Regions from separate parts of the Homo sapiens genome. Here regions 1, 2, 3, 4, 5 and 7 are each linked to region 6. Evidence: promoter capture Hi-C in 16 types of primary human blood cells and fetal thymus (Javierre and others, 2016). All regions are on one chromosome and are shown on one strand. The core of a region is centred on a gene start or on the middle of the fragment in contact, and the rest is flanking DNA. Distances in the headings are between cores, read along the strand shown. Region 1 overlaps TPD52L1 (TPD52 like 1). Region 2 overlaps LOC107986640 (a long non-coding RNA gene). Region 3 overlaps HDDC2 (HD domain containing 2). Region 4 overlaps LOC102723341 (a long non-coding RNA gene). Region 5 overlaps LOC124901395 (a long non-coding RNA gene). Region 6 holds the start of HINT3 (histidine triad nucleotide binding protein 3). Region 7 has its middle 29 kb from the start of HDDC2.

The links. Contacts are between HindIII fragments. The CHiCAGO score rates a contact against its expected background, and 5 or more counts as called.
Region 1: a contact is called between a fragment that was not itself captured here and the fragment with the promoter of HINT3 in region 6, in 2 of 17 cell types (M0 macrophages and M2 macrophages). The highest score is 5.3, in M0 macrophages.
Region 2: a fragment that was not itself captured here is called in contact with the fragment with the promoter of HINT3 in region 6 in 1 of 17 cell types (total B cells); the score reaches 6.9 in total B cells.
Region 3: a fragment that was not itself captured here is called in contact with the fragment with the promoter of HINT3 in region 6 in 10 of 17 cell types (naive CD8 T cells, total B cells, non-activated CD4 T cells and 7 more); the score reaches 21.0 in naive CD8 T cells.
Region 4: a contact is called between a fragment that was not itself captured here and the fragment with the promoter of HINT3 in region 6, in 1 of 17 cell types (naive B cells). The highest score is 5.9, in naive B cells.
Region 5: a fragment that was not itself captured here is called in contact with the fragment with the promoter of HINT3 in region 6 in 1 of 17 cell types (total CD8 T cells); the score reaches 5.3 in total CD8 T cells.
Region 7: a contact is called between a fragment that was not itself captured here and the fragment with the promoter of HINT3 in region 6, in 4 of 17 cell types (naive B cells, total B cells, total CD8 T cells and 1 more). The highest score is 9.9, in naive B cells.

What each region holds. Positions count from the first base shown.
Region 1 is chr6:125,164,292-125,167,171 of GRCh38, forward strand. All of the region lies in intron 1 of TPD52L1 (TPD52 like 1), which reads left to right. Among named protein-coding and RNA genes, the nearest start is that of TPD52L1, 12 kb to the left of the region's middle. The HindIII fragment of the contact is 679 bases long and covers 1,078-1,756 here.
Region 2 is chr6:125,351,734-125,354,764 of GRCh38, forward strand. It overlaps LOC107986640 (a long non-coding RNA gene), which reads left to right. Exons shown (of 3, transcript XR_001744328.3): 3 at 414-3,031. Among named protein-coding and RNA genes, the nearest start is that of HDDC2, 51 kb to the left of the region's middle. The HindIII fragment of the contact is 9,886 bases long and covers 1-3,031 here.
Region 3 is chr6:125,288,070-125,291,044 of GRCh38, forward strand. All of the region lies in intron 4 of HDDC2 (HD domain containing 2), which reads right to left. Among named protein-coding and RNA genes, the nearest start is that of HDDC2, 12 kb to the right of the region's middle. The HindIII fragment of the contact is 4,848 bases long and covers 1-2,975 here.
Region 4 is chr6:125,380,457-125,383,320 of GRCh38, forward strand. The region is part of intron 1 of LOC102723341 (a long non-coding RNA gene); the gene reads right to left. Among named protein-coding and RNA genes, the nearest start is that of HDDC2, 80 kb to the left of the region's middle. The HindIII fragment of the contact is 2,239 bases long and covers 161-2,399 here.
Region 5 is chr6:125,270,176-125,273,240 of GRCh38, forward strand. It overlaps LOC124901395 (a long non-coding RNA gene), which reads left to right. Exons shown (of 2, transcript XR_007059736.1): 2 at 341-3,065. Among named protein-coding and RNA genes, the nearest start is that of HDDC2, 30 kb to the right of the region's middle. The HindIII fragment of the contact is 3,024 bases long and covers 1-2,993 here.
Region 6 is chr6:125,955,360-125,958,230 of GRCh38, forward strand. It overlaps HINT3 (histidine triad nucleotide binding protein 3), which reads left to right and starts at 1,411. Exons shown (of 5, transcript NM_138571.5): 1 at 1,411-1,819. The coding sequence starts at 1,619. RefSeq lists enhancers at 1,424-1,523, 2,584-2,633 and a silencer at 1,694-1,913. The HindIII fragment of the contact is 9,214 bases long and covers 1-2,716 here.
Region 7 is chr6:125,329,199-125,332,390 of GRCh38, forward strand. No RefSeq gene overlaps it. Among named protein-coding and RNA genes, the nearest start is that of HDDC2, 29 kb to the left of the region's middle. The HindIII fragment of the contact is 1,474 bases long and covers 575-2,048 here.

The sequences.
Region 1 (2,880 bases), core at 167-2,666, 790 kb before region 6:
TTAAGAGTAAGCCTTGCGACATGTCAAGTTGCGGGTGGAGGATGCTCATTTATCAACAGCTTGCTATTTTTGTTCTGTTTTCAAGATGAAGAATTCTATAAAAATCACATGACATGTGATTCTTAAACCAATACAGAATTTTATCACCAGCTCAAACAAAAGTCTGTTCAGATATGTTATTCCACTTGGTGTTCATCCATATTCAGTCATCTCAGGACTTTAAAATAAATAAAAGTCACAGGCTCTGCATGCTTCTTTCCAGAAAGTAGAATCTGTATTCTTTAGATGCTGGCTGAAAGGGCTAATTTCAATGAGTACCCCAAAAAAGAAAGCATTTTATTGCCTCATGAACATTATAATTACTTGTTTACACGAATATGTTTTATTCATTTAACCATCTCCCAACCATACTAGCAGAATAACTACTTTAAGAAAATACCTAGTAAAACTGTTGAAAAAAATGAGCCATCAATGGATTTGTCCTTAAGCGACTCTAGCCATCTCTGTGTTGAATTTTCACGGTTTGAAGCAGCAACTGCAGAAAAGAGGGCATCTGCCTCAGTCATTGATCAGCTGGCATGCTCTCCATGCAGGCAGAGGTTCACCATTACTTCTGTTGCGAAATGTCCCCAACAACACCGTAAAGCCAGTCACTTCTTCAATTTACTGAGTTAAGCTGATCATGGTGGTGAGTGCTTATAGTCCCAGCTAATCAAGGTGCTGAGGCAGTGGGACCACTTGAGCTCCAGAGTTCAAACCCAGGCTAAGCAAAACCCCTGTCTCTTAAAAAAAAGATATATATATATATTTTAACTGTATATATATAGTTTTGTATACATATATAAAACTAAAAGAAAAAAGTAAAACAAGAAAAAATTTACTGAGTTACTACACAGTTAAGAACACATAAAAGGTGACCTCAAAATGTGGATATTCACATCTGTCATCCTACTTTTCATTGAATATTTAAGCAATAAAGTGTAATGATTTGAAATATATGCATTAAATTGAGAAGCATTGTTAATGTACCAGGGAAGGCAGGAGAATATTTTAATGAATTTGAAATGGCTAAAAGGAAGCTTTGGGTCCTCAAGGAAAGATGAATTTTAAGCAATTTCTCACAGTGTGAATCGTTTATAAGTGATGCATTTTGATGCAGAGGAAGTGAAGTTCCCAGAATAAAACCACAAATCTCCAAGAATACCCTTAGTCACCAACATATTGCTTCTTTCTCAAAAGGCAAAAATCTAGCACTTTGCTGTAGCCAGATCATGTACCACACATGAAAAATGCATGTATATGTTACACCTCATCTCCAAACTTACCTATGGTTATTTGTATCTTATACAAATTACAGTTTCCCTGACATATATCTAAAATATGGAAAACTCTTCAACTCCTTGGAAATACATTTTTCTTATAATTAGACATTTCTTTTGTCCATTAATAGCAAGAGCGTCTTGTCAAGGATCATGGAAGCAGAACTGATTCAAGATTAAAAAGATCCGTAAAAGTCACATGAGATGTAATTCTTAGAACCAGTATAGAGTTTTATCACCAGCTGCTAGGAAAAGTCAGTTCAAATATGGAATGGTTCAAATATGTTATTCTACTTGGTGTTCGTCCATACCCAGTAATCTCAGTATTTTAAAATAAATAAGTCATAGGATCTGCGTGCTTGTTTCCAGAAAGTAGGATTTGTATCCTTTAGATGTTGGCTGAAAGGACTAATTTCAATGAGTACCCAAAAAAAGAAAGCTTTTTATTGCCTCATGAGTATTATAATTACTTGTTTACATGGATATGTTTTATTCATTTAACCATCTCCCAAGCATATTCACGGAAGCAGAACTGATTCATTCAAAAGAAAAAGCCAATTTGGGATGGGGGTAGTGGGAGGAGATCTCTTCAGATCTCTCAGTTTTAAAGTCTCTGATGGTTGGATATTTGTAGTTTTTCACTGATTTTTCTCTCTGCATAAAGAGCTAATAGCTCATTGTCTATAAATATTTTCCAACATTTTGTTTTCCAAAATGGACTCATTTCTACATAAAGACGTCATGGAAAGATGGTTTTTCTTCCTGAAGGGTTAGGTCAGCCCTGGGAAGAAGTATAGACCTTGGCTCCTGTTATTCCTCTTTAGATATCCCAGGGTTCCAACAGGAAGTTACAAGATACCTGCACTACCTGTAAAGTTTATTTAAAATGATTGGAAGGCTCTCATAAGCATTGGAGGGGAAGAAAAACTTTTTTTCTACCCTCTTAGGTGAAGTGCCTAGGAGCCTGTGAATTAAACTTACAGCAGACAGACTAGCAGGAGAAAAAGCTTACAAAGTTATTTATTTTAAATTTTGCTTGCACAAGGGTGTCATAGAAAGAAATGAATACCCCAAGGAGTGATGAGATTTGATTTTCTGTATCATTTTACTACAGGAAAGGGAGGTGGAGAAAAGGCAATATTGAGAGAGCAAATGACTTCTTTAAAAAAAAAAAAAAAAGATAAATGGGTCCTTAGGAGAATAGATGGGAGATATGACAGTTTGTGACAATGTCTAGAAGAGAAGAAAGAGTTGCTCCCAGTGGGAGGAATTTGTGACAGCTGAGTTCTTTTGGGAACCTCTGCTTTTAGTCAGATAAAGGATTTCGGGAACTCAAATGCCTTCAGCTCAAAATAACTCTTATGGGCTGGGTAGGGTGGCTCATGCCTGTAATTCCAGCACTTTTGGAGGCCGAGGCAGGAGGACTGCTTGAACCCAGGAGCTCAAGACCAGCCCAGGCAACATAGCAAGACCTCGTCTCTACTAAAAATAATAATTTTTAAAAATTAGCCAGGCGTGGTAGTGCATGCCTGTAGTCCCACTACTCAAGAGGCTGAGGTGG
Region 2 (3,031 bases), core at 395-2,894, 600 kb before region 6:
CCTGTTCAATCCAATGACTTCTTGAATAATCTAGTGTAGATTTAATCAAGTCACTTTCACCCTCAAAAATTGGTTCCTAAATAACAACCACATCTTAATCTGCTAAACTCGCACTTTTTCCCTACAAGAGCCCACTGCTCTGGACAAACCCATGAAGCTGTGGACATCAAACATGTTACTGGTCATCCAGACTCTGTGTTTCACCTAAATCTACCCCTATGGTGTAAGTGAACTAGAGAAACAAAGGCTTGATTCTCTAGCACTAAGATGTGCTAACTTATGTTAAGAACTTTTATTTTAGGATGTACATAAGTTAGAATTAAGTTCAGCTGTTAGTAATAGCGATCTACTTAGAGTGACTTAAACAGTTTAAATGTCTATTATCTTACTTTTTCTTTTTTTTTTTTTTACAGGAGACAGGGCCTCTTTCTGCCCCCCAGTCTGGAGGGCAGTGGAGCAAACTCTTGGGTTCAAGCCATCCTCCTGCCTCAGCTTCCTGAGTAGCTGGGATTACAGGAATGTGCCATAGTACCTGGCATATTCTCTTTTTTTTTAAAAGTTGAGAGGTATTTTTTACAGGTTTGGTGTGGTAACTGTTTGTGTTAACCCATTTTGTACTGCTGTAACAGAATAGAACAGACTGAGTAATTTATAATGAACAAAAATGTATTGGCTCATGGTTCTGGAGGCTGGGAAGTACAAGGTTGAGGGGCTGGCACCTTGCAAGGGCCTTCTTGCTACATCATCCTAGGGAGGAAGGGCAAAGGGTGGGATGAGAGGGAGGGAGACAGAAAGAAAGGGCAGGAGAGAGGGAGAGAGAGAAGGAAAGTGAGAGAGAGAGAGAGAGAAAGAAAAAAGAGAGAGAGAAAGAAAGAGAAAAAAGAGAGAAGAGAGAGAGAGATTGAGAACAGAGAGCCAAACTTATCCTTTTGGAAACCACTTCTGAAATAACAGCATTAATCTATTCATGAGGGCAGGGCCCCCACAGTCTAATTATCTCTTAAAGTTCCCACCTTTCAATACTGTTACAAAGGAAATTAAAATTTAACATAAGTTTGAGAGGGTACAAACATTCAAACCATAGAACCCTACAAAAATCTCACAGACCTAGACTTATTTCTTGCTGTTCTGCCTTCTGTTCTCAAGGTCACAAGAGGGCTGATAGAGCTGTAACTATTCACTTCACGGTGGAAGAAACAATAAGGAAAGAAGATATGATCCTCCTTTCTAAAGTGCCTTCTGGAGGTACTTTCTATTTTCCTCCCATTACCCTGAGCCTCATCATATGGCCAAACCAGAGAGGCCGGGAAATGTAATTTCACAGCTGAACACAGTTAAGTTTCCATTATAAAGAAAGAGAACGAGAAAGGATATTAGAGGCAAGAAGCTGTTCCTGTCACAGTTAGCATTAAAACTAAAGTTAGAGAAGAAAATTTTCTCTTTCATTTAATGTTCTATAAAGCAACATTTATTGATGAACTCACTGTCCTAGACACTAAGGATTCAAAAACCGAAATGACACAGTTCTTGTCTTCAGAATATCACAGTCTAATGGAGAAAATACGTGTTCATGTCCATAGATGATTACATACTAGATGTACCCCTAGATTTTTATGAGAACAAGTAAGATAAACTCCCCACTCAGACAAGGGTGAGGAAAAGGAAGAAGGCTTTATGGAAGTCACAGAAGAAAAATACGGAAAGAAAGTAGACTTTGGTGACAATGTATTGGGCAGAGGTCAAATAAAGATAGAAAATACGTCCATTGGGTTTAATAACAACAGAGGCCTTTAGTGAGCTTGGGGAACACTGTTTCAGGGGAGTGCAGGAAATCAAATCCAGTGGGGCAAAATGTGACTATTAATGATAAAGTTGAGAGGGAAAATACAGAAAAGTCTTTAAGAAATGTAGTTATAAAGAGGAAAAGAGAAGGAAAATGGCAGCTAACAAGGTCTAGGCTAGGGAATGGTTTTTTTAAGGATAAGAAACATATGAGGATACTTCAATACCACCGAGAATGTACAAAAAGAGGGACAGAGACAGATATACAAATAAAGAGAGGAAAGAGAGCAGGTGAGCTTATCCTCTGAAATGGCAGAAATCAAAGTAAAATCTAATGCCAAGGCAAGTGATATCTAAGACAATGATCATAAAACTGAGACGTATCTGAAGATAATCTCTATGTTTTCTGTGAAGTAGAAGTCCCAGTTCTGACATAGCAGTAGAGTCAGGGAGAAGAGTGATACATGCAAAAGAGTGATATGCTTTACATTAGCCATTACTAGCAATAAGAAAGACAGGGATGGGTGAAGAAAAGAAAGAAGAGTAGGAAGTAGGAAAGGGCATGCATATTATGAAAATCTTTTCTCTCACCTCTGTCCCCAGTCCCCACCACAGAGGCAATTACTGTCACTAATTTATTGTGTATTTTTCCAGAGGTATTCTATTCCAATACAAGCAAATATCTATATTTATCCCTTTTTACATTTTTACATATGGTGCATACCATACACATTTACCTTGTTTTGGATAATTTAAATATACATAGGTATACTGCTACTCTCCCAATCCCTGAGATACCATCATTAACTCCTCCCTATCTACAAACAAGATGATCATGTCAGAGATGTTAACTGTCTTGCTCAAGATTCTTAGCTGACAAATAAGTAGTGAAGCAGGAAAAACAGATTCCACCATTATATCCATATAATAGATCTGTATTACATTTGGAACTGTTCTCTCAACCAGAAATTAAATCTAAGAGAAAAATACACTTGGAAATTTAACCTCAGAGTGAGTGACTTGAATGCTCCAACTATGCTGTCATCATCATGAAATATTCTACTGCTGTGTTCTATTACTGTTTTGAAACTGTGTCAAAGACCAATTGATAGATAGTCCAGTCAGAAGATCTCAGCTGTGTATGGATATCAAGAGGCACTTAGCTCTAGGAAGGTAGCCTTCTTATGCCTCTTACAGAATTTCTCTCTCCAATTTAGTTGGAGACACAGTGGCCCTGCCTGCCAATTTT
Region 3 (2,975 bases), core at 315-2,814, 670 kb before region 6:
ATGTGGCATTCAGGGAAAATTATTCTGAAATAGGGTTGGTGAACATATTTGCAAGGCTTCTAAAAAGCTGGAGAACTTCCTATCTGACAGTGTCTATGTTCTCAAAGAAGGAAGAGGCAAGAATACTTGCTATAAAATCAGGGGAGAAGTGACAAGATAGATGCTTGAAGAGAGGGCTGAACAGCTGATGTGGGGCACAGACAGGGGAGGGGGAGAAAGGGGCAGGGAGGTGACCCGAGGCCCACTGATGGGGTGCTGGCAGCCCTGAGGCTCTGCAGAGCCTGGTGGCCAGGGCGGCTGTGACCCCAGTCCCCACGGCACAGAGTCTCTGAATCAGTGTTTCGCAGCCTTCTGGTAGGACAGGAGAGGACTCAGACTGGGGTTTCAAAGAGCAACAGAGGGACAAGGAGTCCAAGCAGGATGGAGATTCAAATTCTAGGTCCTGAAAATGGAGGACTAAATAGGCAGAGGAAAGGAAAACAGGAAGATTAAACATTTCGCAACCTACTCATCTGACAAAGGGCTAATATCCAGAATCTACAATGAACTCAAACAAATTTACAAGAAAAAAACAAACAACCCCATCAAAAAGTGGGCGAAGGACATGAACAGACACTTCTCAAAAGAAGACACTTATGCAGCCAAAAAACACATGAAGAAATGTTCATCATCACTGGCCATCAGAGAAATGCAAATCAAAACCACTATGAGATATCATCTCACACCAGTTAGAATGGCAATCATTAAAAAGTCAGGAAACAACAGGTGCTGGAGAGGATGTGGAGAAATAGGAACACTTTTACACTGTTGGTGGGACTGTAAACTAGTTCAACCATTGTGGAAGTCAGTGTGGCCATTCCTCAGGGATCTAGAACTAGAAATACCATTTGACCCAGCCATCCCATTACTGGGTATATACCCAAAGGACTATAAATCATGCTGCTATAAAGACACATGCACACGTATGTTTATTGCGGCACTATTCACAATAGCAAAGACTTGGAACCAACCCAAATGTCCAACAATGATAGACTAGATTAAGAAAATGTGGCACATATACACCATGGAATACTATGCAGCCATAAAAAATGATGAGTTCATGTCCTTTGTAGGGACATGGATGAAACTGGAAACCATCATTCTCAGTAAACTATCGCAAGAACAAAAAACCAAACACTGCATATTCTCACTCATAGGTGGGAATTGAACAATGAGATCACTTGGACACAGGAAGGGGAATATCACACTCTGGGGACTGTGGTGGGGTCGGGGGAGGGGGGAGGGATAGCATTGGGAGATATACCTAATGCTAGATGACACATTAGTGGGTGCAGCGCACCAGCATGGCACATGTATACATATGTAACTAACCTGCACAATGTGCACATGTACCCTAAAACTTAGAGTATAATAAAAAAAAAAAAATTAAAAAAAACAAAACAAAACAAAAAAAACAAAAAAAAAACATTTCCTTCTTCCTGGGGAAAAGGTTGGCCCTGAGTGAAGTGCTGATCTCTTGGAAGTTTATCTTTTGCATCTTCCCCTCTCCAACCTCCTAGTGACTCTCCCTCCAGGGTTCTGGGGTCCTTATGCTGCTCTACATCAAGCCCCACCTGTACTTTGAAGAATGAATTGGGGGGAGACATTTTTAAAAGGGTACTTGTTAACCTAACTGTATCTCCAATTGACTGAACTTCTGACAATGTGGAGAGAAAACTTGGGGTTAGAAACAATCCAAGGACGGTGGGGTGTACTAGGCATTTCACATGCAGGAGAGGCTCCCCTCACGCCTTGGGGCTCAAAAGGACATTTCTTTAAGGCAAAATGCAGGTGGTGGAGAAGACATCTTTCTGTGATACTTTCAGAAAAATAAAATAAAAATGTTTTTTCTTGGCTGGGTGAAATGTGATTTCACTTTTTATGATAAAAGATAAATTATAATCAAGGATGTTTAATGGCTGCAAATAGATGTGATCCTCTGGGCTAAGAAATATTTTAAAGTGATAAATAGTTGTAATTAGCATTTCTAAAACCAATCAACTGTCATTTTCTATGTAACTAATGCTATTCTAAGCTCAGTGAGTACAGAATGACCCTACTTTCTTAAACCAAAAACCACGATACATGGACTGGAGACAGAGAAAAATAGAGCTTACTATGTGCCAGGCAGTATCCTCATTGCTTTATGTATATTAATTACTTTAATTCCTACAACCCTATAATTATTGCCATTTTACAGATGAGGAAATTGAGGCACAGAGAGATTAATTGCTCAAGATCTCACAGCTAGTAAACAGGGGAGCCACTATTTGAACCTTGGAAGTCTGAAACTTATGTACCAACATTAGACATGAAGTATAAAATGCATAAATTATTACAGAAACTTGTACTGTGTTGAATACTATGTTGAAAAATTTATGTCCGCCTACAACCTGTAAATGTGACCTGTGAATGTGACCCTATTTGGAAATAGGGTCTCGACAGAAGTGATCAAGTTAAGACGTGGTCTTACTTGATGAGAGCGGACCCTTATTCAATAGAGAGAAATTTGGACATGGGTTCTGACGTAGGGCCAATACCATGTGACTACAGGGAAGAGACTGGAGTGATGTGTCTGCGAACCAAGGACTGCAATAACCAAAAGCTAGAAAGAGGCAAGGAAGAATCCTCCTTTTGCTTTTGGAGAGAAATCTTTATCAGGCTTCATTAATTCAACCAATGACATTTATAAGATAGTAAACTTATTACCTCTTTAGGGGTTATCAAGTGTTTTAATTCTCTGTTTTATATTTGTTCAAATTCAAAGCCGTTCTAAATAGCTTTTGTAGCATTTATCTTTGGAAGATACTACTGCAAGTAAATTTTGCAGTAAAGTTTTTCACCAGTTACTGATGGCTAAGAAAATAATTTAATAGATAACTGCCACCATGTCTACAATAATTAGGCACAAAGGTACAAACTATTGTAGAAGTTTT
Region 4 (2,864 bases), core at 30-2,529, 580 kb before region 6:
CAAATGTATTGTAGAGCAAAATGTTGTATTAGTTTATGAGACTGACGCACTGCCTACCGTGATAAGAAGGCACCATTATTTTATTAGTTTAAAGCTAAAAAATAACCATATGATTACATGGTTTACAATTAACTCAAACCTTTTCATCCTCAAAAGCGCAAGCTTTCTTTTTAGAAATGAGTAGTGCTTGCCTTCTATTGTTCAAAATTTAATGGAAATGATGACATTGCTTTATTTTTTAACCTGTTAAAAAGATAGTTTTTATAAAATTGCTTCATTATTTTATAACTCTAGAAATTCTATATTATTAAATTACTTACAATATGACTTGCTCTTACTTAGCATAGTTGGAGAAATCAATGGTTTGCTTCATCCGTAGGTACAGGACAGAGGGATAATGCTATGGCAGGCGTAATGAGAGTCTGGGCAGATCCCAAACCAAGGAGTAAACATAGTTGCAGAGGAGCTATGATCAGAGCATTGGGTTTATTTTGTGGTCCAGGAGGTGGAGAGTTAGAGGTCAGCCAAAGTTGATTACTAGGAGCCAAGCGGGGGAAGTGCCAGAGACATGACTGGGAGATGGAGTGGAAAATCCGCAACCTGTGACACTAACCCAGGAACTGAAGGCAGGAACGTGGGAAGCCCAGTAAGTCAGACAGCTCTTCTTCAGTCTAGCAACGCAATTTTAAAGACCTGGCCATGTACTTCTATGCATCGTTTTAAAGGCATTGCCAAACACCTAACTACTGGAATTAATGGATTTTAGTTTGGTGAGAAAGTAGACATTTTTCCAAAGAATTACGGGTGTGTTCAATGAGATCAATGACTGCACTTGTATTAGTTATCCATTGTTGTATAACAAATTAACCCAAAACTTAGCAGCTTAAAACAGCAAATATTTATTATCTTATCATTTCTGTGGGCTAGTAACTCAGGCATAACTTAGCTGGGTGTGTCTGGCCCGTGATATCTTAACAAGGCTGCAATCGAAGTGTTAGCTGGGGCTGCAGTCATCTCAAGTAGGAGAGTAGGAGAAGATCCACTTCCAAGAACACCAGCCTGGCTGTTGGTAGGACTCTTTGCAGCCTGTTGGCCAATGATCTCAGATCCTTGCCACATGGGTCTTTCAGCAGGGCCGCTCACAATATGGCATTCAGACCTCCCTCAGAGTAAGCTAGAGAATGAAAGAGAGCGAGAGGGAATGGGCAAGATAGAAGTCATAGTGTTTCCGACCTCATCTCGGAAGTGACATCCCATCCCATCCCTATTGCCCTCTTCCATATGTCAGAAGCCAGTGGCCATGTGCAGCCCACACTCAAGCAGAGGGGATTATACAAGAGTGTAAATGTTAGGAAGTGAGGGCCATTGGGAGTCAACTTAGAGCCTGCCTTCTGCAGCACTCCACAAAGAATTCTGTATCATTAGGTATTTTAGAACTGAATAGACAACAGATGATCATGTAAGAAACAGGTATTCACCTGCTGGAAGGCAAGAACTGCCATTATCTTAAAGTTTCTTTCACACCTATGACTATATTCTCTGAAATGAAATGGGTTCTTTGTATATTTTTCATAAATTTTGTCTAACACACAATGGTAGTTCAACCACCATCTCATCTATTGTCATATAAGGACCAAAGTCTGGCTAAACTTTCCCTAAGCAGTGGAACAGTAGTTAAGAGAAAGACTGCCAGGATTTGATCCCAGTTTTTTACTTACTAGCTGCTTGATGTTGTTGCCTCAATTTTCTGTTCTGAAAAATGGAAGCAATAGTTTTACCTCACTCATAGTGTTCTAAGAATTAAATTAAGTGTCTAGTACAGTCCCGGGTACATGTTATATGATCAATAAGAGTGAGCTAACTAAAGAAATTTGACCTGTCCTCTATTGACAACTTTTTTGGGAAAAGGAAATTCATATTTTTCATATGATTTCCCATATGTCAGCCACATAGATATTTTTTGTTTCCCTACTTCCTAAGATCTTCATCAAATTAGTCATGCCGTTATTGGTATAAAACTCTCCAACAGCTAAGCACAGTGGCAAGACAATAAAATGTATGTGATTTTAGAGCCAGTCAAAGAGATTGGGACTTCAATTATCTATTTCATATTCTAAGGCTATATCAAGTCCTTCACTCTTTTATAATATATTTATATTTCAGACATTATTTACAGGTATTTGTCTTTTCACTCTCCATGAAACAGCTAGAATTCAAAATAGAAAAATTCCTTTGATGTCTTTTTAGTTCATTCTTTATAGCCTTTGATTTTTTAAATTAAAAAAGTATGCTTATTCTAGAAAAATGAGAGTTCAGCTAAGTAAAAAAGAGAGAGAAAAAGAAAAAGAAAGACATATATGGATTATCCCAATGTTAGTGATCTCTTAGTTGATTTTTAAAGCTTTGGATTTTTAATTTTTTAAAAAATGTATACTTATTTTAGAAAAATAGAGAACATAGATAAGTAAAAATACAGAAAGAAAAACAAAGGAATATTCGCTCATAACCCTAATATCCATAGGAAGCCATGACTAACTTAAGTCTATCTTTCTAGGTATTTTTCTATGCATATATAAAAAATATAATAATAAGAAAAGGCCTGGTGGCTCACGCCTATAATCCCAGCACTTTGGGAGGCTGAGGCAGAAGGATTGTTTGAGCCCAGGAGTTTAAGACCAACCCTGGCAACACAGCGAGACCCTATCTTTACAAATAAAAATAAAATGTAATAGTATGAACATAATATTGTAATCTGTCTCTTTGTTTTTTTTCCTTCCAAAGCATATGTGGGTAAGATGATTTACTCTAAACGAAAGTAAACCAACAGGGAAAAAAAGCTGTTTAGAATATGAAAGAGAAGAGAA
Region 5 (3,065 bases), core at 232-2,731, 690 kb before region 6:
CTATCAGGAACTGAATAAAGTAACACCCGCTTTGAGTGCAGCTGTACCGTCAATCATGGATTTGATGGACTGCTTGACAATGGAACTGGGACAGTACCACTATGTGGTGGACTTGGTCAATGCATTTTTCTCCATCGACATTGCTCCAAGAGCCAGGAACAGTTTGCCTTCACGTGACAAGGGCAACAATGGACTTTTACAATGTGGCCGCAGCGCTATGTGCATAGCCCCACCATATGTCATGGTCTTGTTGTCATGGATTTAGCCACTTGGCAATGTGCAGAAGGGGTCCACCTATTCCATTATATTGATGATATGTTAACCTCTGATTCTCTTGTAGATTTAGATGTGGCGGTGCCTCTCTTGCAGCAACATTTGGCAGCATGCAGTTGGGCCATCAATGAATCCAAGGTCCAAGGGTCTGGATTATCTGCCAAATTATTGGAAGTTTCCTGTCTAGGTAAGATGATGGCCATACCAGAGGCTATTATTGACAAAATTCAGGCATAGCCCTGGCCCACCACGGTGAAGCAGCTACAAACTTTTGTGGGCTTCCTGGGATACTGGGGGGCATTTCTGCCCCATTTAGCTCAAATGACAAAACTGTTGCACGGTTAACAAAGAAGAGAGCTACCTGGAATTGGGATATGGCTGAGACCGCTTTCCTGGCAGCCAAGTGGGCTATTCAGCAGGCACAAGCCCTATGGGTAGTTGGCCAGGGGCACCTGTTTGAGCTGGATGTGCATGTGAGCACAGATGGTTTCAGTTGGGGCCTGTGGCAGCATACAGAGTGCCTGAGAACACTAGTAGGCTTTTGGTCTTAACTGTGGAAAGGAGCTGAGCTCCAACAGTCCTTGATAGAGAAACAGCTAGCAGCTGTATATGCAGCATTTCAGTCTTGTGAAAGTGTGACAGGATGGGCTACAGTCATCATGTGGATGGCTTACCCAATAGTGGGATGGATGTGTTCATGGATAATGCCCCCCTGGACTGGGATGGCACAGACATCTACTTTGGCAAAGTGGGGCACCTACTTGGAGCAGCAAAGTTTGCTGAGTACAAGACCCTTGGCAGCAGAATTGCAAGAGGTCTTGGGACCTATAGTCCTAATGCAAGAGAAGGCTATAGGGCCTGGGGCACCCCTAGACCCCAAGCCATCACCGTTTAAGGAAGGGTACCCCCCATTCCTGATGGGGCATGGTACACAGATGGGTCTAGCCAAGGATCTAATGCTGCCTGGACCGCTGTTGCAGTCCAACCTAGTACAGACACCATATGGTTTGAAACCAGGTGTGGGCAAAGTAGCCAATGGGCTGAACTTACAGCAGTATAGATGGTGATCACTAAGGAGCAGATATCTATGGTGATTTGTACCGATAGCTGGGCAGCCTACCGAGGCTTAACCTTGTGGTTAACTACTTGGAAAATACAAAATTGGCTAGTCAGCCACTGACCTATGTCATGGAGCCAAGTGATGTGGCAAGACCTCTGGGAAATGGATCATCAGAAAGATGTAATTATTTATCATGTGTCAGGCCATATGCCTTTGGCCACCTTTGGCAATGATGAGGCAGATGTCTTGGCCAAGGTCCAATGGTTAGTCGGCACCAACACAAGATGTGGCCTTCTGGCTACACCAGAAACTGGGACATGCCAGGGGCAAACTGATGTAACAGGGCAATAAGTGTTGGGGTCTGTCCCTGCCCATGCAAGGTATTTGGGAGGCTCGTCAGAAATGCCCAGTATGTGCTTGGTCATACCCTAAATGGAGGCAGCTGCCCACTTTTACACAAGTGACAACAGGGCGAGTGATCTTGACCAGGTGGTAAGTAGACTACATCGGTCCGCTGCCAAAATTGCAAGGGTATACACATGTGCTAACAGCTGTGGACATGGCCACAAGCCTGTTGTACATCTACCCTTGCAGGGTGGCCAACCAACAGCACATCCTCCGGGTCCTGCAACACTTATGTGCCCTGTATGGTTGCCCTCTGGCCATAGAGAGTGATAGAGCACCCATTTCACTGGACAACAGGTACAACAATGTGCACAACAAATGGACATAAAGTGGGGATTCCATGTGCCATACAACCCACAAGCTGTGGGTATGATTGAGCAATATAAAGGGCTCTTGAAGAATGGGTTACACTTGCATGTCACACCCGTCTTTGCAGTGCTGGAGTTCCAAGCTGGACCTGGTGGTTCAAACCTTGAATGAACAGCCATGGAAAGACCGCCCAGCCCTGGTGGAGGCTTTATTACACTGGGCCACCACCCCTATTCAGTTGCAGATACACACTAAGGATGACCTCCTCCGACCAGGTATGGGGACGAACGGTAACCTTTTGTTGCTTGCCCCAATGCCCCTGAAGGGAGGGGAACAGAAAACCTGGCTCTGGCCATGGACCCTCCAGGCTCCCCACTGCTGGTGGTTGGCCGTTGTAGCTCCCTGTGGGGAAGACCTACAGTATGACTTGCATGTCACTCCTTGGGCATTCAATACATGTCACCCTTGGTTGATTGTTCTTAGGGCAACAGCCAGGGAAGAAACGCTCCTCTGGGGGACATAAGTACTGTCTGTGTGGCCTATTATGAGCTTCCCCTTGACTTTGGCATAGATACCGGACCCATAGGAACCATGGGGAGCTGAGAAGGTGTGGTACCATCGCCCAGGGCAGAAGCTCTTGGCAGCTGCATTGTTATCCATGGATGAAAAGTTAGCCTGTATTTTGCCTGAGGGACGTCACTTACCTCTGTTAGTAGCTGTGCCTGCTCTGTCATTTTGGCCATAGGTTAACATGCTCCAACTGCATTGTAAACTGCGCCCACACCTGTGCTGAGGTGATCAATGTTTCCAACTTTCGGGTCTGCACTGCCCTTCCAGCAGCAGCTGCAGATGACTTGCCTTGGCATATACATTCAGTGTCTACAGAGAACTGGACATGGCTGGAGACTTGGGGTCCCGTGGTTGACATCTGGAATGCAACGCAGCAAGCTTTGGACAAAGGACGCTGCAAGATCCATGGTGCTCCCATCATGTGGCTGGCCCATAGCATTTATGATGG
Region 6 (2,871 bases), core at 161-2,660:
TGAAAACCTGTTATATGAATTTGCAAGAGGATGTGCTTATGTCAGTTTGGCTAAAGAAAATTTCATGAAGGAGGTAGCATTGGAGGGGTGGCTTGGAAGGTAGAATTTGGAGTGAAGAGATGGAAACAAGAATATTTGAGAGAGAACTGTGTGAATAAAAGCAGTGATGTGAAGGTGTAGTACAGGCATGGAAATTGTGAATACTAAAATTTGGCAAAACTCTAATGTATTGATTCTGAACTCTGCTTTGGGGTGCTGAAAGGCAGTGAAGCTATTGTAGTGGTTCCCCAAACTACGGGCCAACTACAAAAAGGAATGAAAAATGTCTTGAATGTATATGTACAACAATTCAAAACACATACAACCACTTTTTATTACAACATAAATCCATTAAAAATCATTACTGAATTCCCAATTTGTTATGTATTTTCTAAATCAGCAAATACCAAGGGTGTAACTACTATAGTGAGCTAGTCCAACAAATTTTTTGGTGTTAAAAAAGGAGTGCTGTATGTCAAAAAGGTTGGTGGGTTTTGGAGTTAGACAAACCTTGATCTTAAACTCTGTCACTATTAATTAGTTGTGTGGGACTGGGCAACTCTGAGTTTGGTCCTTCATCTCTAGAGCGGTGGTTATAAAACCAACCTTGCGTTTTTTGACAATTAGAGAAATATATGGCATGTTTTAGATGCTCAGCAAGTGGGAAGTATCACAAAACGAAAAGCTGAGGTCAAATCAGAGTCCACCTTGAACACCAAGCTAAGGAACTGGTACTTTTTCTTTGAGCACATAGTTACAGAAGGTTTTGTCTGAGTGACAGGAAAATCAATAAGTAAGTTAGAAGGTGATTGCGTTGGTCTAGGTGAGGCATTATGAGGCACTGGCATTGAATTTCTGGGATATTTCAGAGTATTGACTATAGGACTCCACATCTACTTGTATATGAGGAATGTGAGATTAAAAAAAAGGTCGCTAGTTTGATCTAACTGTGCTGTTAACAACAATAAAAAGTCAACAGAGATGTAAAGGTCAGTTTTGGACATTTTGAGTTTAAACTCCTACAATTATCGTGGCTGAAAAAGCAGCAAACATGATGTCTGTTGAAAACAAGGCTTTAGGAATTTTGCTCATTCTTTAAAAACCTACGAATTTTAAAAATCAAACTTTAAAAAACTTTTTGTTTTTTTTTTTAAAAAAACGGCAGCGTAATACAATATTTGGACACGCTATACTATGGGCTTTGAAGAACGCCTGTCCAGAACACCCAACAAGCTCCATTATGTCAAACGCTCCCGCGCCTCTGTGATGTCACCACGACGCGCTGGGCGCTCTGCGACTTGGCAGACGTCGTGCGTCATTACCAACGAGGCGCAGGGGTCAGGACGACTCTCGGCAGCGCCATTGCGCGCCCTCTAGTGGCAGCCGGTTTTGAGGCCGGCCTCCGGCTTTGAAGTTCCTCACCGCGTCTCCTTCCCTCTCCCCAAAGCCTGGATCACCGCCCAGCGTCAGGCGAGGGGCGACGTCTCGAGGTAAAACGGAGGAGGTGCGGGACGCGGAGACTGCGCGGGCCCGGTAGCCCTGGAGAGGCCGAGGCTCTAGGCCGCGAGGGGCGGGTGCAATGGCGGAGGAACAGGTGAACCGCAGCGCCGGCCTGGCCCCCGACTGTGAGGCCTCGGCGACTGCAGAAACTACGGTTTCCTCAGTGGGGACCTGTGAAGCCGCTGGCAAGTCACCAGAGCCCAAGGACTACGACAGCACCTGCGTGTTCTGCCGGATCGCGGGGCGGCAGGACCCGGGCACCGAACTCCTGCACTGCGAGGTGGGCGGCGACGCGCGGCCGGGGGTGGGTGAGGACCTGGCCGCCCCTCGGAGCTCCGGCAGGGAGGCCTCGCCGTTGTGGAGCGGGTGCAGAGGATCCCGATCGCTACTCAGCTCGCAGAGGCAGGGCCGCTCTGTGTGGATGGGGCTCGGGGAAGCTGGGGATACGCCCACTACGGGCCTTTCTGCAGGGTCCGGGTGCTGATGACAGACTCACTCCTAGGGGACTGACAGGCAGTGGCTCCAGCGGTATCTTTGCTGTTCCCAGGGGCAAAGAGTGAATGACAGGGCCGAATGCTTTGGCCTATGTTTGCAGGTACCCAGGTAGTTGGTACAAATAACATTTTGTGGCCTCTGCTTTTATTACAAGGATTCTTCTCCACCTTCAAGATACTGATTTTAAATCCTGCACACTCTAATACCGATACTGATGAGAAAACTAGTAGAAAATAGGTAATGATAATTGTGGAAAGCTGTTTGTTAGATTGGCAGAAAATAGGCTGGAGGGAGTGGGTCTGAGGTCAAACTATTATTGAATTGCCTCTGAATTCCACTGTCAGTTGGGATGCGTGGACATTTTCAGAGCATGAAGACTTTGCCCAGATATTTTTAAACGGATAATCTGGCACACACTTTATTCTGTTGGTTTTACTTGTCCATATAGAAACAACTTTTTGAGAGAATTAGCTCCAAAGATTGTGTCTTTTGTAGTAAACATTCCTTTATTTTTTAAAAAATAAATATAATTCCTTCTAAGCACCTTGTTTTGGAGGTTTTTGAGCAAGATAAGGGACAGTCTGTGTCCCGATTTTACAATCTAAAGGGCGGAATGTATACAGAGGAGGTAGCCAGTTACAATGCCTCGTGCTGTGGTCAGGTGATTTTACAGTATTTTGTAAGCTTGTGGGAGGAGCATCTAACCCAGCTCTGAAGAATTAGGGAAGGCTTTCCAGAGGAAATGAGACATGAAGAAATAAGTAGGAGTTGATCAGATGAGGAAATGGAGAGAATAATGTCCCAGGTTGAGAGACCCCCCGAGAGGTTCAGTTTGTG
Region 7 (3,192 bases), core at 62-2,561, 630 kb before region 6:
ATGAAAGACAGGCTGTGGCTAGGACTGGCTAAGTGTTCACCACACTCTCTTTTTTCTCCCCTGGGCACAGAGCTGGGCTACATTTTCTAGCTTCCTTTGCAGTGAATGCAGCTGTGTGACTGTAGCCAGTGGAATATGGGCAGAAGAGATGTGTGCCACTCCTAAGTTTGGCCCATAAAATGAACTTCCCTGTTATCCTCTATTGCCTCCTCTTCACCTATCTGATAGCAGATGCAACAAATAGTATCAGTGGACTCAGAGGACCAAAGTGATGGAAGAGTCATGGACGAATGGAGCCTGAGACCTGAATCATTGCTAAAAGATGAACTACTTAGAAATGTTGTTCGATAAAAAACATCCTATTGGACTGTTGCATGAGTAAGAAATAAGCTTTTGTTGTATTAAACTACTGAAATTTTGAAGTTGTTGCAATAGCAAATGGCTACTTCAATTAATTCAAGGGCTATATAGAAAAATTCAGGAAAGGGGGTATTACTATTTCATATGCAATGGTCAGAGAAAGTGTCACTTGCAAATAAGTATTTAAGCAGACACCTGAGAAAATGAGAAAGAAAGCTTGGGGGTATCCGGGAGAAGAGCCTTCCAAGCAGAGGGACCAGCAAGAACAAATGCTATATCTAGTGGACACATGTGCTTGGTGCATTTGAAGAAGAGCAAGGAGGCCATTAGTGAGCTGGGGAAGAGTAGCAGGAAACCAGGTCAGTGAGGGCCCAATAGTGTAGGGACATACAGGACCTTGTAAGGACTTCGGATTTTATTCTGAGCATAGAAGCCATTGAGGTTTGAATTAAGATATTTATTTTAAAAAAATCCCACTAGCCACTGGGGTTAGGGGATTGTGGTGGATAATCAAGGATAGAAGCAGAAAGATCACTTGGGAGGGGGCTGTTTAAATAATCCAGGTGAGAAGCAATGACTGTAGCAGTGGAGGTGGTGGGAAGGGGTTGGATTCTGGATTTACTTGAGAACAAATAGGGTTTGCTGAGGGATTGAATGTTCATTGTAAAACACACATACACACACACACACACACACACACACACACACCGCCACACAAAAAAACAGGCACCAAAATGACCCCAAGATTTTTGGACTGAGCAACTAAAAGGATGTAGTTGTCATTACTGACATGAGAAGACTGGAAGTGGAGCAAATTCTTGGAGAAAATCAGGAGTTGGTTGTGGACACATTCAGACTGATGCTTGCCTCCTCAGCCTCATCACCACCAACTTATTCTTCTCTGTTTTCTCCATCCATCTTGGTTTTTCTCACCATCTGAGAACTTCTTCCCTCCTACTACCCTTTCCTAGTTAATTCCTGCCCCTCAATTCAGATATCAACTAAGAAAACTGTTGCTTTCTCCAGGGAATAATTCTTCCTTTATCCTTGGTTGGGATTAGGTCTCCTTGCTGAGTTCTGCCCATCACAGCTTCATCTTAATTCCTTGTTTTGTCATTTTCTTCACTGAACTGTGAGCACTGTGAAGGCAGGAGTCCCTTTTGTCTTCATGTTCATCATCATGACTCCAGCTTCTAACACAGAGCTTGGTATGTGCTAGGTGCTCAAAAAATGTTTGCTGAAAAAACGAGTGAATAAATGAATGAATGTATGAATGAATAAGCACACTATGTCCCCTTCAAGAGACTTCTTCCAGAGAAATTCTGGTAAAATCTTAACTTTAAGCATGCTTAAACTACTGAGCAAGCAGCTTTTCCGGAGCGATTAATATTTATCTGACATTAAAAACTTTGTAACTCAAATATTTCACTTTTTTTTTTTTCTGGAGACAGTGTCTCACTGTGTTGCCCAGGCTGGAGTGCAGTGGCACAATCATAGTTCACTGCAGCGTTGACCTCCTGGTCTCAAGAGATCCTCTCGCTTTAGCCTCCCAAGTAGCTGGGATTACAGGCACATGTCTGACCATGCCTGGCCAAAAGTTTCACTTTTTACATTAACTACTAAAAACTTTTGGGCAAATACGTGACCCACCAGTAGCCTATGTGGAGGTCCTTATGATATACATTTTAAGCTTTGTTCCTGCTTGTTTTCTGTGTCATTCTTGTTTTTCCTCATTTGTTTGTCTAACTTTATTATATGCTTTCTCATCATTTGTATATCCTTGTAAGCAATTTTTTGCGCATTTAATGTATTTTTTATTTTCTAGTAATTTTATTTTTTGGGAGCTTTTTTATTATACAAAAATTAAAACACATCTGAGTGTGGAGACAATAGTATGAGAAATGCCCATGTGCTGGCCACCCAGTGTTAACAATGATCAACACATGGCTAATCATGTTTCAGCCATCTCCCCATTTCCACTCTCATGCTGATTATTTTGAAACAAAATCTAGACATTATATAAATTATAAATATTTTAGAATGTTTCTCTAAAGATAGGGACTCAAAACTATATAATGACAATATTATTCTCATGCCTAAAAATAAGAAATTTCTTATCAAATATTCAATGTTCACATTTTGCAAATTGCCGTGTGTGTGTGTGTGTGTGTGTGTGTGTGTGTGTGTGTATTTAACAATTTGTTTGATTCAAGGTCCAAATACAGTCTATACATAGAGATTGCTTAATAGGTCTCTCAAGTCTCCTTTGACTTCTTGGTTCCCCCTCCTCCTTTTCTTTCTTCTTTTTTTTTCCTTGCAATTTTCTGTTGACAAATTGGGCCATTTGTACTGTAGAGTGTCCTGCAGTCTTGATTTTGTTGATTTCATCCATGAAATGTTGTTTAGTGTGTGTTTCTATGTTTCTTATATTTTTCATAGATTGATAGTTAAATCTAGAGCTTATTCAGATTTGTTTTATTTTTTAAGCAAGATTACTTCATAGGTATGTCCATGTTATTTAATTTCAGTTCTCCCTCTCTCTCTCTCTTTCTGTCTTAATCTCTCTTTCTATCCACCCCACCCTCCCACTATGCTAGCCACCATTAATAATTATTTCCTAGATCCATTACTTTATTAATGTTGGCATAATTTTCATCTGACTCTAGAATTCCTTTATCATTTCTTAGCTGGAATAGTTCTGTAAAGGAAAACATCCCCTTATTTGGTTAACTAATGTATAATTCATATAGGAAGAGCTTGACTTTTAAATGCTTGACTCTTTCTGTTTATTCATCAGTTTTCAAAATAATAACTGATTACTGAACATGCTCT